3 separate regions of the Homo sapiens genome follow, and regions 2 and 3 are each linked to region 1. Evidence: promoter capture Hi-C in human tissues and cell types (Jung and others, 2019). All regions are on one chromosome and are shown on one strand. Each heading gives the region's core, a stretch centred on a gene start or on the middle of the fragment in contact. The rest is flanking DNA. Distances are from core to core; before and after follow the strand shown.

The links. Contacts are between HindIII fragments. The study calls those that stand out against the background at their distance.
Region 2: a fragment that was not itself captured here is called in contact with the fragment with the promoter of IGSF21 in region 1 in 1 of the 25 tissues and cell types used here (hippocampus).
Region 3: a contact is called between a fragment that was not itself captured here and the fragment with the promoter of IGSF21 in region 1, in 2 of the 25 tissues and cell types used here (liver and spleen).

Annotation. Positions count from the first base shown.
Region 1 is chr1:18,106,490-18,110,605 of GRCh38, forward strand. IGSF21 (immunoglobin superfamily member 21) reads left to right here and starts at 1,309. Exons shown (of 10, transcript NM_032880.5): 1 at 1,309-1,709. The coding sequence starts at 1,640. The HindIII fragment of the contact is 17,740 bases long and covers 1-4,116 here.
Region 2 is chr1:18,242,950-18,246,928 of GRCh38, forward strand. The region is part of intron 2 of IGSF21 (immunoglobin superfamily member 21); the gene reads left to right. Among named protein-coding and RNA genes, the nearest start is that of IGSF21-AS1, 69 kb to the left of the region's middle. The HindIII fragment of the contact is 8,753 bases long and covers 1-3,979 here.
Region 3 is chr1:17,954,363-17,958,198 of GRCh38, forward strand. No RefSeq gene overlaps it. Among named protein-coding and RNA genes, the nearest start is that of LINC01654, 110 kb to the right of the region's middle. The HindIII fragment of the contact is 4,529 bases long and covers 1-3,836 here.

The DNA of each region.
Region 1 (4,116 bases), core at 59-2,558:
AGCTGAGCCGCAGAGCTGCCTTGGGAGGCGATGGGGTGAGGTTCCAGAGGGCAGGAGGAGGGAGCAGTTCACTTTCATGGACATCTCTGCACAAAGCTCACCCAGAGGCAGCCCAGCAACCACCCATTGCCCACCCCACTCCCTACACTCCTCTCAGAGGGCTGCTGGAGATGGAACTGGCTATAGACCCATTGCCCATGTAGGTAAACGATGCAACAGCCTGACTCAGCAACCTGCCAGAGCTAGGGAAGCTGGAGATTCTCCATAGAAGGCCTGGGTAAAGGGACCCACCTGAGTTCTGAGCAGGTTTTGCCCCTGGTCGTGCTGGTTTTTCTGGGCTTTGCCAATCTTCTGGGTCCCTACCAATGGTGAAATTCTATCTCCTGAACTTCCTCATCTAACCACATCCCCAGTCCACTCCAAGGGCTAGAGTACCCCTCCCCTTCATCCTCGCAGGAGGCCTCAAAGTCCACCGCCAGGGCTGAGGCTCAATGGTGTGTGTGTGTGTGTGTGTGTGTGTGTGTGTGTGCTCGCGTGTGTGTTGGTGGGAGAGTAATGGTAACATACAAGTCCCAAACCTGTTCTTCTCGGACCTGGGAAGAAAAGCTGTCAGGTCTGGCAAAAAGGTGGAAACTTGGTCTCTGCCAGGAGGAAACAATCAGTTCCTCACCCTTCCTGGCTGGATCCTAGCACATGGGAAAAAGACAGAACACACCCCATTTCCGTGGGTCCCTGGGGGAAGGAGCAGCCGTAATTGGGGAAGTTTCAGAACATGGAAACCCCTTAATCTTGCCCAATGAGGGCATTCATCGTTGGCAAGGTCAGAACTCCAGAGCCACACCCTGCCTGCCCTGCTCCCAGGATGGCATCTTTCCCTCTCGGGAGGGAGGCTGCCTCCTTTCATCAGGCTGAGTAGCGGGGAGGGCGATGGTAATCCCGGGGATAGGAGGGGCTAGGTAAAGGCGGATCCGATGGAGCATAGCTTCCAGGGCGGGGTGTTGGGTCACCTGGGTAAGGGTTAAGAAGCTGGAGGCAGCAAGCCAGTTTTGAGTGAGGGGGGACCTGAGTGAGGGGAGAGGGGAGGTTAGGAGGGGGTGAGCTCTCCTTCTCCCTGCAATAAATCGGCTTAGCGGACGAGAGCCGAACAGCCCAGAAAGGATTAAAGAAAAGTCTGTATAATACGCGGAGAGCGCGGCGAGGGGAGGGCAAGGAGGGCGGGGGGGCGGGGAGAGGGGGAGGGACGGAGGGAGGGCGAGAGGAGGGGGGTGCTCGCGCCGCCGGGAGAGGCGAGCGCGAGGCAGAGAGCGCGATTCGGCTCCAAACTCCGGCGCTGCAGCCGATCGGACTCTGGGCCGCGGTGGGCACCGCGCGCAGCTAGGGAGCCGAGAACCGCGGCGAGCCCCGAGGACGCCCAGAGCGCGAGGGTCGCTGCGCCTCGCAGAGCCGGAGCCGAGTCGAGCCGGGCGCCCGGGCTGCCTGGCCGCGGCGGCATGGGGGCGCCCCCGCGGCTCTCCGCGCTGCCCGCCACCGCCTCGGCCAGTGGCCGGAGGCAGGAGCGCGTCTGAGCCCATGGCGAGGGGACCCGCCGCCACCGCCTCCACCCCCGCCGCCCCGCCACCGCCGCCAGCTCCCGGGCACCATGCGAACCGCCCCGAGCCTCCGCCGCTGCGTCTGCCTGCTGCTCGCCGCGATCCTGGACCTGGCGCGCGGTGAGTGCGCGGGCGCCTGGCGGGAGCCGAGCGGTGAACGTGCGCGGGGACGGGGTGCCGGGGGAGGGCGCTGGCCGGGGTCGCTCCGAGAGGCTCGGGCTACGAGCACCGGTCCTGCCCGGGGTCTGTGGAGCTGGTTGGCTCGATGAGGGAGGGAGGACGCCTCTTGGAGAGCGCTCATGGATTTGTGCCAGGGTGTGTGTGTGTGTGTAAATTGTGTGTCTTTGTTGTGTGTCTGGGTGAGGGTGTCCGGGAAGGAGCTGTGTGGGCAGAAGGTGCGGGAGTGTATTTAGAGATGCAAGTGTGTGTGTGCGTGTGTGTGTGATGGTGTGGGGTCTGCGTGTGAGTGAGCGAGGGTCTGGATGGGTGTTAGAGTGTCTGTGTCAGTTACATGGAGAAGGTGTGTGTGTGAGAGTGTGAGCGAATGTTGGGGGGAGGGTGTGAACATGTGCCACCTTCCCTGTGAGGGTGTGAAGTGTGTGAGCTTGTGTCACTGTGGGTGTGAGGTGTTAGGGGGTGGGTATGTGAGGTTTGGCGTTTCACGTGTGTCCCGAGTGTGCAGGTCTCTAGGGGTGTACGACAGCGGATTACTATTTCTGTGTGCACAGGAGATGGGACTGTGACACTGGACAAGAGTCTGCTTATGTGGGATGGGTGGGGGTGCAGGTGCCTGGGAGTCGTGGGCTTCATGGGGCTGGGAGTGTGTGTATGCGTGCCATGGAGCGTGTGGTTATCGTGTGCAGGGAGGTATGGACGCTTCCGGGGCTGGGGAGTTGTGAGCAGCTCAGTGTGTGTGTGTGTGTGTGTGTGTGTGTGTCCCGCCGTGTGGACTTGCTCCCGGGTTAGGCTAAGACAGCTAGAAGGAGGTTGAAGCCGAGCGGGTTCTCCGGAGCCAGTGAGAGGTGGCTCCGCAGCCCCAGGGTCCGCGGCCGGCCTCCCACCCAGTGCCGCCGCGTAGTGGGTCTTAAATGGAGCTGAACCCTTTCGCGCAGTGAGCAGAGAGCCAACGTGAGGCTAAAAGCCAGGAGGGAGGGAGGCGGGACCAGCGAAGAGCCGCAGGCACCGAGACTACAGGCTCCGCGTCCGGGATCCTCCTCGGAGCCTGGTGCCAACCTCAGCCTGGCTGGAGTCAGAGCCTGGCTCCGCCTCGGAGGGGAGCGGGACGCGAGGTGCCAAAAAGTCGTCTTTATGATCAATAAGGTCTCGACCCCGAGCCCCACTGGATGATAGAGGTGGGCATCACCTCTGTCCTATGCCATAGCCTTGTCCCAGCAGGAGGTGCCTACCTAGGCTCTGAGAGTGCCTGCCAGGAAGGGGTGCCCCCTTAAAAATAACCCCAACTCCTTCTACCCCGAAGTCCTTGGGGAGTGCTGGGTCTGCTGATGGGAGAAGCTGCAGAATTTGAGCCCGGAAGGTGGTCCTGACAGCGAGGGGGGAGGGGTTGGTGTAACCCAGAAGGAATGCAAACCCTGTACTTTGTTCCCCTACCCTTGGAACAAGAGACTTTCCTAAGTGGATCAAAATGTCCCCCCTCAACTTTGGGAGGAGGGCTCTAGAGGGAAAGGTTACATGGGGGAGGTCCTCGTTCCAGCGCCGCCGAGAGGGCACTGGGGTTTGTTGAAAGGCACTGGAGCCCTCACCTGGACATTGCAGGGGGCGGGGGTTGGAGGCTGGGGACCTAAGGTAAGCACCCCTTTCCCTGGGAATGCGCAGAACAGAGAGACGCGGCAGGGTGAAGGAGAGGACTGATGAGAAGGGCTTGTTGGGAAACCCTGGCTCCGTCAGGACCCCACCCTGCGAGCTCTCCCTGGAACCCGGGAGCAGGGTTCTTCTGGCTGCCCGGCTGCAGAGAGCTGACCCGGCATCCTGACGCCTCAAATCCCTTTGCCCGCCTCTGCGGGCTGCGGGAGGCGGGGGTTGGCGTGCCTGAGGGTGAGCGCATCTGGGCCGGTGCAGCCAGCGCGGCCTCGGAGCTCCGCTGCTCAGGATGAAGGAAGAGCGCAGACGCGGATCGCGAATGGGAAACTTTCCGCGTCTGGGGCGCAGAGGGAGATCCGAGGCAGCCGGGAGCCCTCTCTTCTCCGCAGAGGAGAGCACACGAGGGTGGGGTCCCTCCTTCCTCCTTCCAAGTCTGTGCCCAGAATGGGGGGCGGGGTGCGAGAAGAGTCCGTGAGAGACGCAAGAGGCGGGCTGTGCCGGAGGAGGGCGCCCTTCCTGGAGGTGGCCGAGAGAGGTGCACCTGGCAGCGGCTTTGCAGGGCCACCTGCCTCCGAGGGCGCAGAGAGGAGCAACCCGCGCCGGCCTTCACGAACGTACTGGCGGTCACTGCTCGGGGAGGGGCACGGCCAGAACGCCCTCGCCGGTTCTGCCCCTTTGGGTGGCAGAGCAAGGGTGCCCGACGCTAGAG
Region 2 (3,979 bases), core at 955-3,454, 140 kb after region 1:
TGGGCATGGCAAGTAGAGGTGAGAGCAGGTGCAAAGGCCTGGGGGTGGCCCATCTGACTCCCATCAGGCGCTCAGTGAAGGGTCAGGAAGAGGGGAGGCAGGAGGAGGAGGCTGAGGGCAATCAGGGACCTATGCCAAGTCTGGGGTGCCCTGCAATGGAGCTTGAGCTATATCCAAGGGGAACAGTCAAGAAATTTTAAACACAAAAGCATCATCATTCGATTTTAGGAAGCTCTGGACCCCTCCCTAGAGATGTCTGATAAGCATCTCAGACTTAACATGGCCAAAGCAAAGCTCTGCATTTCTTCCCTAAACCTACCCCTCCCTTAGTCTTCTCCACCTCAGCGAACGGCATCACCATCCACCAGTTTCCGAAGCGAAAAATCTAGGGCGTCTCTCCTATCACATCTCATCCCTTGCCCCTGCCCACTCCCCGCATCTCTTCCATCGAATCCGTTCTAAAAGACAAGCCCTGAATCCACTGCTTCTTCCCCATTCCTGGGCCTCCAAGCCAGCTGAAGCCTCTATCACTACTTCAAGTCAGCACCCTCCTGATCACACTCTCTGCTTCCACTCTTGTCCCCTCAGCCCCCAAATCCAGTATCCACCAAGCAGCCAGAGTGACCTTTTGAAATCAGAACAGTCTTATCATTCCTCAGTTTTGCCTGATACTTAACAATAAAACCCGGGAGGCACCACCCGGTCTGGCACTGCCCCTTTCTGGCCTCGCCCACTCCACTACCTCCCACCACACCAGCCTCATTTGGGTTCTGTAAACAGGAGCCAGCCCACACCTCCAGATCCACGATGTGCAGGCCCTTGTGTTGGGTGCTGCTGGGATTTCAAAGATGAGCAGCATGAACCCTGAGGAGCGAGCATATGGACCAGCAGTGAAGATGCTGCTTTGCCAAGGTGCCTCTAGAGACAGAAAGATCCAAGAGCAACTCCTGCCTCCACCTCTTCCTCTGTCACCTCCCCCATTCTCCATATCTGTGTCTATAAAATGGGATGGTGATAATAGCACTGACCTCGTGGAGGGCCATGACAGCAACCATGCAACCAAGCATGCCTGGAACAGTCCAGATGGCGCTTGTTATCTGAGGGTGACTGTTAAGAGCAACCCTTGTTCAGCCTCAAAAGTGCCTGATTTGGACGACAAATGACACTTTTGCCAATGCAGCATTCTGGAAGCGCTTTGCAAATGTCGTTTCTCAGGATGGTGCTCTACTTCTCTGTGCACATAGACCATGGGACAGATTCAAGGGCAGCGCTCCATGCATTGCCCCCGGTCGGGAGATTTCTTAAGCTACAACTCTGGGCAATGGTAGAAAGAGGGACGGAGCCCTAGCCTGCCAGATGAAAAGAGCTGACTTTGGAATTCACCTCCCTCTCCCTTTCCAGCATGGACCATGGGCCTTGATCCCACCTAGGTGTTGGGCTGTGATGGGCAGGACAGGAATCACGGTTTAAGGGGTTGTTGCAGGTGATGCTGGGTGGGCCTTTCTCTGTGTCTGAAAGCTCGTGAAGGAAAGGCAACCCAGTCACCCAGGAGTGGACTCAATGCCGGAACAATGGATCCCTTGCACAAGTCCAGCTGCATTGCTGACCTATGTGGCCTTTCCAAACTGTGCCATACGTAGAGCCTGTTGCTTCATCTTTCAGCAAATAGTTATTGAGAGCCCTCTGTGTCTCAGGCCTGGTGCTGGATGCTGCCACAGAGGCCCCTGCCCTGGTGGAATAAAGGAAACTGGTAATTGCACATTGATCTTCTATGCAGACATCTTACTGACACTTATCAGTGCTAATAGATTTTTTTTATTTTGATCTTTTGCATTATGATGTGAAAATATTATCTGCAAATAATAATAATAATAATACTTCTCCTCTCAATGCCTGAGAGACAGCATTTTTAAGGTAGAAAAATGTATATCCTGGAACCAGATCACTTGGATTCAAATTCCAGCATTGCCACTTAGAAGCTGTGTGACTTTTAACAAGTTACTTAACCTCTCTGTGCTCCAGTTTCCTCATCTCATGTAATGAACTTAGGACAGTGCCTGACGCTATATAAATATTGGTAGGGCTATACTTATTGAACTGATTATAATTTCTTGCCTTATTCCATTGTCTAAAATTTCCAGAATGCTTGTAAAAAAGGGTTTCCCTGTCTTATTCCTAGTTTTCATAGGAATGCATTTATAATTTTAACATTGCATATGATACTTCCTGCTGGCTTCTGATAAATATTCTTTTTTGTTATGAATAGGAAGGTTACTTCTATTCCAATTTCACCTAGAATTTTTATAAAGAAAAATTAATTAAATGCTCCTTAAAAATCTATTGAAATAATCATATGGTTTTTCTCCTTTAATTTACTAATGTAATGAATTATGTTGATGTTTTTCCTAATATTGAGCCTCCATTGGGTTTTTGTAATTTCTTTAAACAAATAGCTTGTGTAGCAAATTAAAAGAGCTCTCAAGTATTTGTTTTTTTATTATTATAAATGGGATCTTTTTCATTGGATTTTCTGTGGGTCTCTGGGATGTAAGAATGCAATTGATTTTTTGTGGCTTTATCTTGCATCCTACAAATTAGATGAATTCATTTTTTTTCTCTTTAATAAGCATGTAGTGCTTTCTCTGAGTTGTCTAGGCATCCAGTCTCCCCAGCTGATATTTTTGTTTCCTTCTTTCCTGTATTTTTAGATCTATTGCATTTAGCAATGAGCAAGCATGTGTTGAGTGCCTACTATGTGCCAGGCACTGGGCTAGGATCTGTTTCCTCTGCTGCTGTTGCTGCTGCTTGGCAGGGTGGGTGGTTGGAGTACCCTCTTCAGCTGGAATATTGAGAGCAGGGGCCTTATGAGGGAATGAATCCCAGGAGGTCCCAAACCACTTAGAGTCAGATCAGGATTCAAACACATTAACCCTCAGGTCAGGCTGCCTCCTGACCGATGACTCTCCCCTTCAAGGGGCAGGGGTAATTAACCTTGACAAAGAAGGGGAAACCAAAGCTTGGGAATGCAGCAGTCATTTCTGGCCTGGAGGTGAAGATAGATGCCCTTACCCTGCAACCTGGCCTTGAATGGTCCAGCTCTCTGACCTTCTTTTTGTTCTTGCATCTGGGACTTGCTGCTATTAAACAGGAGTGAAAGTCCCAGTTATATTTTGTTTCTCTTGAGCAGCATCCCAGCTCTGGGGGGTGTGAGATGGCATGGCAGCATGCTGCCATCCCAGGCCCTCCCTGAGTCTGTGAATGAGGCCCTCTTGCTTCCTGGGTGAATGTCACTAAGAGGCTGATGGCATCTCAGTGCCCAGTGGGCCCCCCTCACTGCCTGGCATGACTCTTGCTGCCTCAGGTCCCACCCCTTCCTGCCTATAGATTTGCCCTTGGTTTTTGAGCTAATTACTCCGTCTCATCACTGCACTGACTCTTCCCAGCATCTGACAGCCCTATGAGCGTGTATCTTGTAATCTCCCTTCACCTAACACAAGTCAGCTTAATTATGCATGTGGAGCTTAGGACTCCAACCTCCAGGCTCATACTCTGCAATTATTTCTGTGGTCTTGTCCCCTCTGGCTTCCTGCAAAGATGGCAGCTGGTGTCTTGCTGTGGAGTCCCTGGAGTTACACCCTACACGGGGTGCCTGACTGAGAAGGCAGAGGGAGCTAGCTCGGTATGTGCTGTAATCTCCAAACTCCATGCTTGGGACATCTTTTATTAATTCACACTAAATTGCAGTGTGGTTTGTGGCAACCTGTCTAGCGCACCCTGGCGGCACCAAAGAGCTGCCCTGTCCACACCAACAACAGGCTTGGGAGCCTCCCAGGATCCCGGGAAGTCCTCAGGCTCTGCACCCTGCCCCAGGCTCTTGGCAGACTCTGTGAAGCTCAACACATCTGAGTTTGGAAGCTGCTTTGGACTCAGGGAGAAGAGAGCGAATCTTTGTTGGTTATTGATGCTGAGCCAGGCACTA
Region 3 (3,836 bases), core at 787-3,286, 150 kb before region 1:
TTTCCCTCCACAGAGGCGTTTGTCCCCTCCCTCATGGTGACACATGCCAGACAGTTAAAAGAAAATTCCTGCTTTTGGGTTTTAATCTAATTAATTGCAGGCATTCCTGCCCCATCTTGCCATTCCCTCTGGGAGCCAGGGTTGCCCTGAGGATAAGGCTTTTGTCTTCTGAGCATCCTAATGCTAGCTGGTGGCTGGACCTCCTGCCACTCTACCTGGACTGAATTAAACCTGTGGGCCAGGACCTCAAAGGTGAGCCTTCAGGATGCTGGGTCCAGAGTGCAGGCCTGGGTGCCCTAAGCCAGCTCCTGGCTGGTGATGTGGCTTAGGAGGGTCCAGGTCTAGAAGATACCCCCCGACCCCTGTGCCCCCAGGTGATATGGGGTGATCAGGGAATGAAGTTTTTGCATTCTGATGTGCTTGAAGAAATGTTTCCCCCAGGTTATGGGGCTTCAAACTCTGTTTAAGGACTTTTGGGAAGAGAGAGAGGTGGTGGGAATCCGTGCAGGTAAGTCCAGAAAAGACCTGGGCAACACGGGGGACCTTCAGGTTGCTGCCAGCATTTTTTTTTCTTTTTTCTTTTCTTTTTCTTTCTTTCTTTTTTTTCTTTTTTTTTGAGATGGAGTCTTGCCCTGTCACCCAGGCTGGAGTGCAGTGACGCGATCTCGGCTCACTGCAACCTCTGCCTCCTGGGTTCAAGCGATTCTTCTGCCTCAGCCTGCTGAGTAGCTGGGTCTGCAGGTGCACACCACCACACCCGACCAATTTTTACATTTTTAGTAGAGATGGGGATTCATCATATTGGCCATGCTGTTCTCGAACTCCTGACCTCGTGATCCACCCACTTCGGCCTCCCAAAGTGCTGGGATTACAGGTGTGAGCCACCATGCCCGGCCGCTGCTGGCATTTTTTTGGTACCACTGAAGCCCAGTGTGCAAGGCAGCTGCCCAGAAGCATCTCTGCTTCTCTCTCCTGGAGCAGCGGAGAGCACAGCCTCTCCCAAAGTAGCCCAAACTTAGTCTCAGTGAGGGGAAGAGCAGGGAAATTAACACTGATCAAGCTTTCTAGCTGGTGCTGGAAGCCCTCTCCAACTAGCAGGAGTTGAGTAGAGTCTGGAGCCAGATGCTCGGGGTTGAACTGGCTCTGCCTCTGACCAGCTGTGCTTCTCCTTGGGCAAGTTGCTTAACCTCTCCGTGTCTACTCTAAAGGATTGTGATGAACAGTGAATAAAGCACACAGGTAAAGTGTTTGGATCAGAGCCTGTTAAACTGAGATGCTAGGTCCATGTTAGCTATTCTCCTGTTTCTTCTTTTAGACATTCCCCAAACCCCACAGGTGTGTCCTAGTAGGATCCTCATTTTATAGATGAGGAAAGTGAGGCCCAGGAGGGACATGACTCACTCAAAACCACGAAGCTGAGGAGGGGCACAGTGGGGCCACACTCAGGCCTGACTTGTGCCCGGCCTGTCCCTCTCCTGCTTCCTGCATCTGCAGCTGGGTGTGGCTAAGCACAGAGGGAAGGAAGAATTGAGGGTTCTGAAGGCTCCCAAGAGGTCCTCCTTGCTCCCCCAAGTCCCTTAACTGAGGCAGTGCTGTGGCACATCCCAGACTCACACGGACAGCCTGTCCCTTGTTCACATGCCAGGCCAGCAGAGAAGGGGAGCAGCCCTTCTCCTTGCTTCTCAGACTGTCAGATGCACTCCAGCTCAGGGAGGCAAGCAGCCAGCATGGGACTTCCCATTTCCTCACTAGAGGAGCATCTGTCCAGCTTCTCTGACAGGCTGCCCACTGTCTCTTGGCTCAGGAGCCAGGGAGACTGGTACCCGAGGATGGTTGACAGAACCTGTGGGGAGGGTGACAGGTAGTGGCCAGCCCCAGTGCCCACAGACAAGCTTTCCGCCCTGACAGCTGACTTTGATGGCCCAGCCTGGCTATCCTGACTCTAAGATCCATGAGAAAATCTCCCAGAATGGGTCAGATGAGAACAGGCTAGATGGGAAGGATGGAATTTACAAATGCTATTGTATTAGGGTGAGGATAGTAAAGCAGGCCTGTTGAGCCAGATTCCCCTTGCTGTGCCGCGAGTGAAAACCTCTGACTCTTATAATCTTTTTTTTTTTTTCTGAGACGTAGTCTCGCTCTGTCGCCTAGGCTGGAGTGCAGTAGCGTGATCTCAGCTCACTGCAAGCTCCGCCTCCTGGGTTCACACCATTCTCCTGCCTTAGCCTCCGGAGTAGCTGGAACCACAGGCGCCCACCACCTAAATAATTAGGCACTAAAAAATTAGCACCGGCTAATTTTTTTTTTTTTTTTTTTTTTTTTTGTATTTTTAGTAGAGACGGGGTTTCACTGTGTTAGCCAGGATGGTCTTGATCTCCTGACCTCGTGATCCGCCTGCCTCGGCCTCCCAAAATGCTGGGATTACAGGCGTGAGCCACTGCATCTGGCCTTCTGACTCTTCTAATCTTAGAGTTGGGAGTACAAGGTGGAGATTTCTTGGTACTATTACTTCATTTTCCAGATGGGGAAACTGAGGCTTAGAGATTGGAGATGGGTTACTTACTCAAGGCCACACAGCAAAACCTACATGACTGAGCTGGACTTAGAGCCCACATTTCTAGAGTCATAGACCAGCCTGTCTCCGAAGAGCTTTCCAGTCCTAGCCAGCATCAGGTCTCTGCCAAGCCAGCCTCCCATACCCCTGCCCCACCATGCCAAAAACAGTAGCTAATATGTATTGAGCACTTACTATGTGGCAGTCTCTGTTCCAAATGCTCTATAAGTATTCAGTTACTTTATCTCACTTCTTAGGAAGTAGTGGTATTATCCCCATTTCACACATGGGGAAACTGAGTCACAGAGAATAACTTGCCCAAAGTCATCCTACTAGAAAATGGCAGAGTCGGGATTTGAACCCAGACCATAGGGCTCCAGATTCAAAGTGACTGACAGCTTAGGAAGAGACAGCTTCCCAGGAGCCAATGCCCATTGCCCTCAAGTCGTTACCCACTTACAATCTAATTGCTTTTACGTGCTGCTGAATTCCTTTATAAAAGTCTTCTTTACTATGTCTTAATTGGAGAGTCCCAGGGCCAAAAAGTAGACAGATTCAAAGTGGTTTCATGAAATATAATACAGGAAAATGATATTCATCTGTGGGAAAAATCCTACAGCTAAAGGGAAAAAGATCAGAGCAAAGAGCCACAGAGAAAACTTTTGTCTGGTGACTGGCCTGGGACAGAAGTCGAGACAGGGATCTTTGGTGACTGCTTGGTCCCTCCTCGATGTGTAAACTTGCTGTCTTCCCACCCATCCCTGGACCTCAGGATCTGTAAAGGGGGGGTGTTGATCTAAGAGATTTTCTGTTTCAAGGCCCTTCCAGCTCTGAAGTTGGAGGGTGGGGTGAGCTCCTTTGGACAGTTCCTCTATTGCACAATGGGTTTGCATGAGAAAGGCCCATTGAGAATTCCCTGCCCTTTTCACAGGAATCTGCTCTCAAGTGAGGTTTTCCCACCTATCGTGGGGCTGGACAATTCCTTTTGTAGGGAAGATCCCCTTAGGTCTAACGTAAGAGCCCCCACTCCCATTCTATCTTTCTTCTTCAAGGATGCTTTCTGTCATTTTCTTCATGTCAGACAAAACTCAGAACAGGCCTGAATTTGCCATCGTGTGCTGGGGCGTGTCCAGGCCTGTCAGAGATGCCACTGATTGCTTCATTATGCTGTTGCTGAGCAAATTGAGCCAGAAGGGGAGAGAGTGTGCTCTTTCCTTCATCCCAGTTCGAGGCGCTCCATTCCCTCCAGTCATGCAAGATGGGAGGAGCACCTAAGCCCACC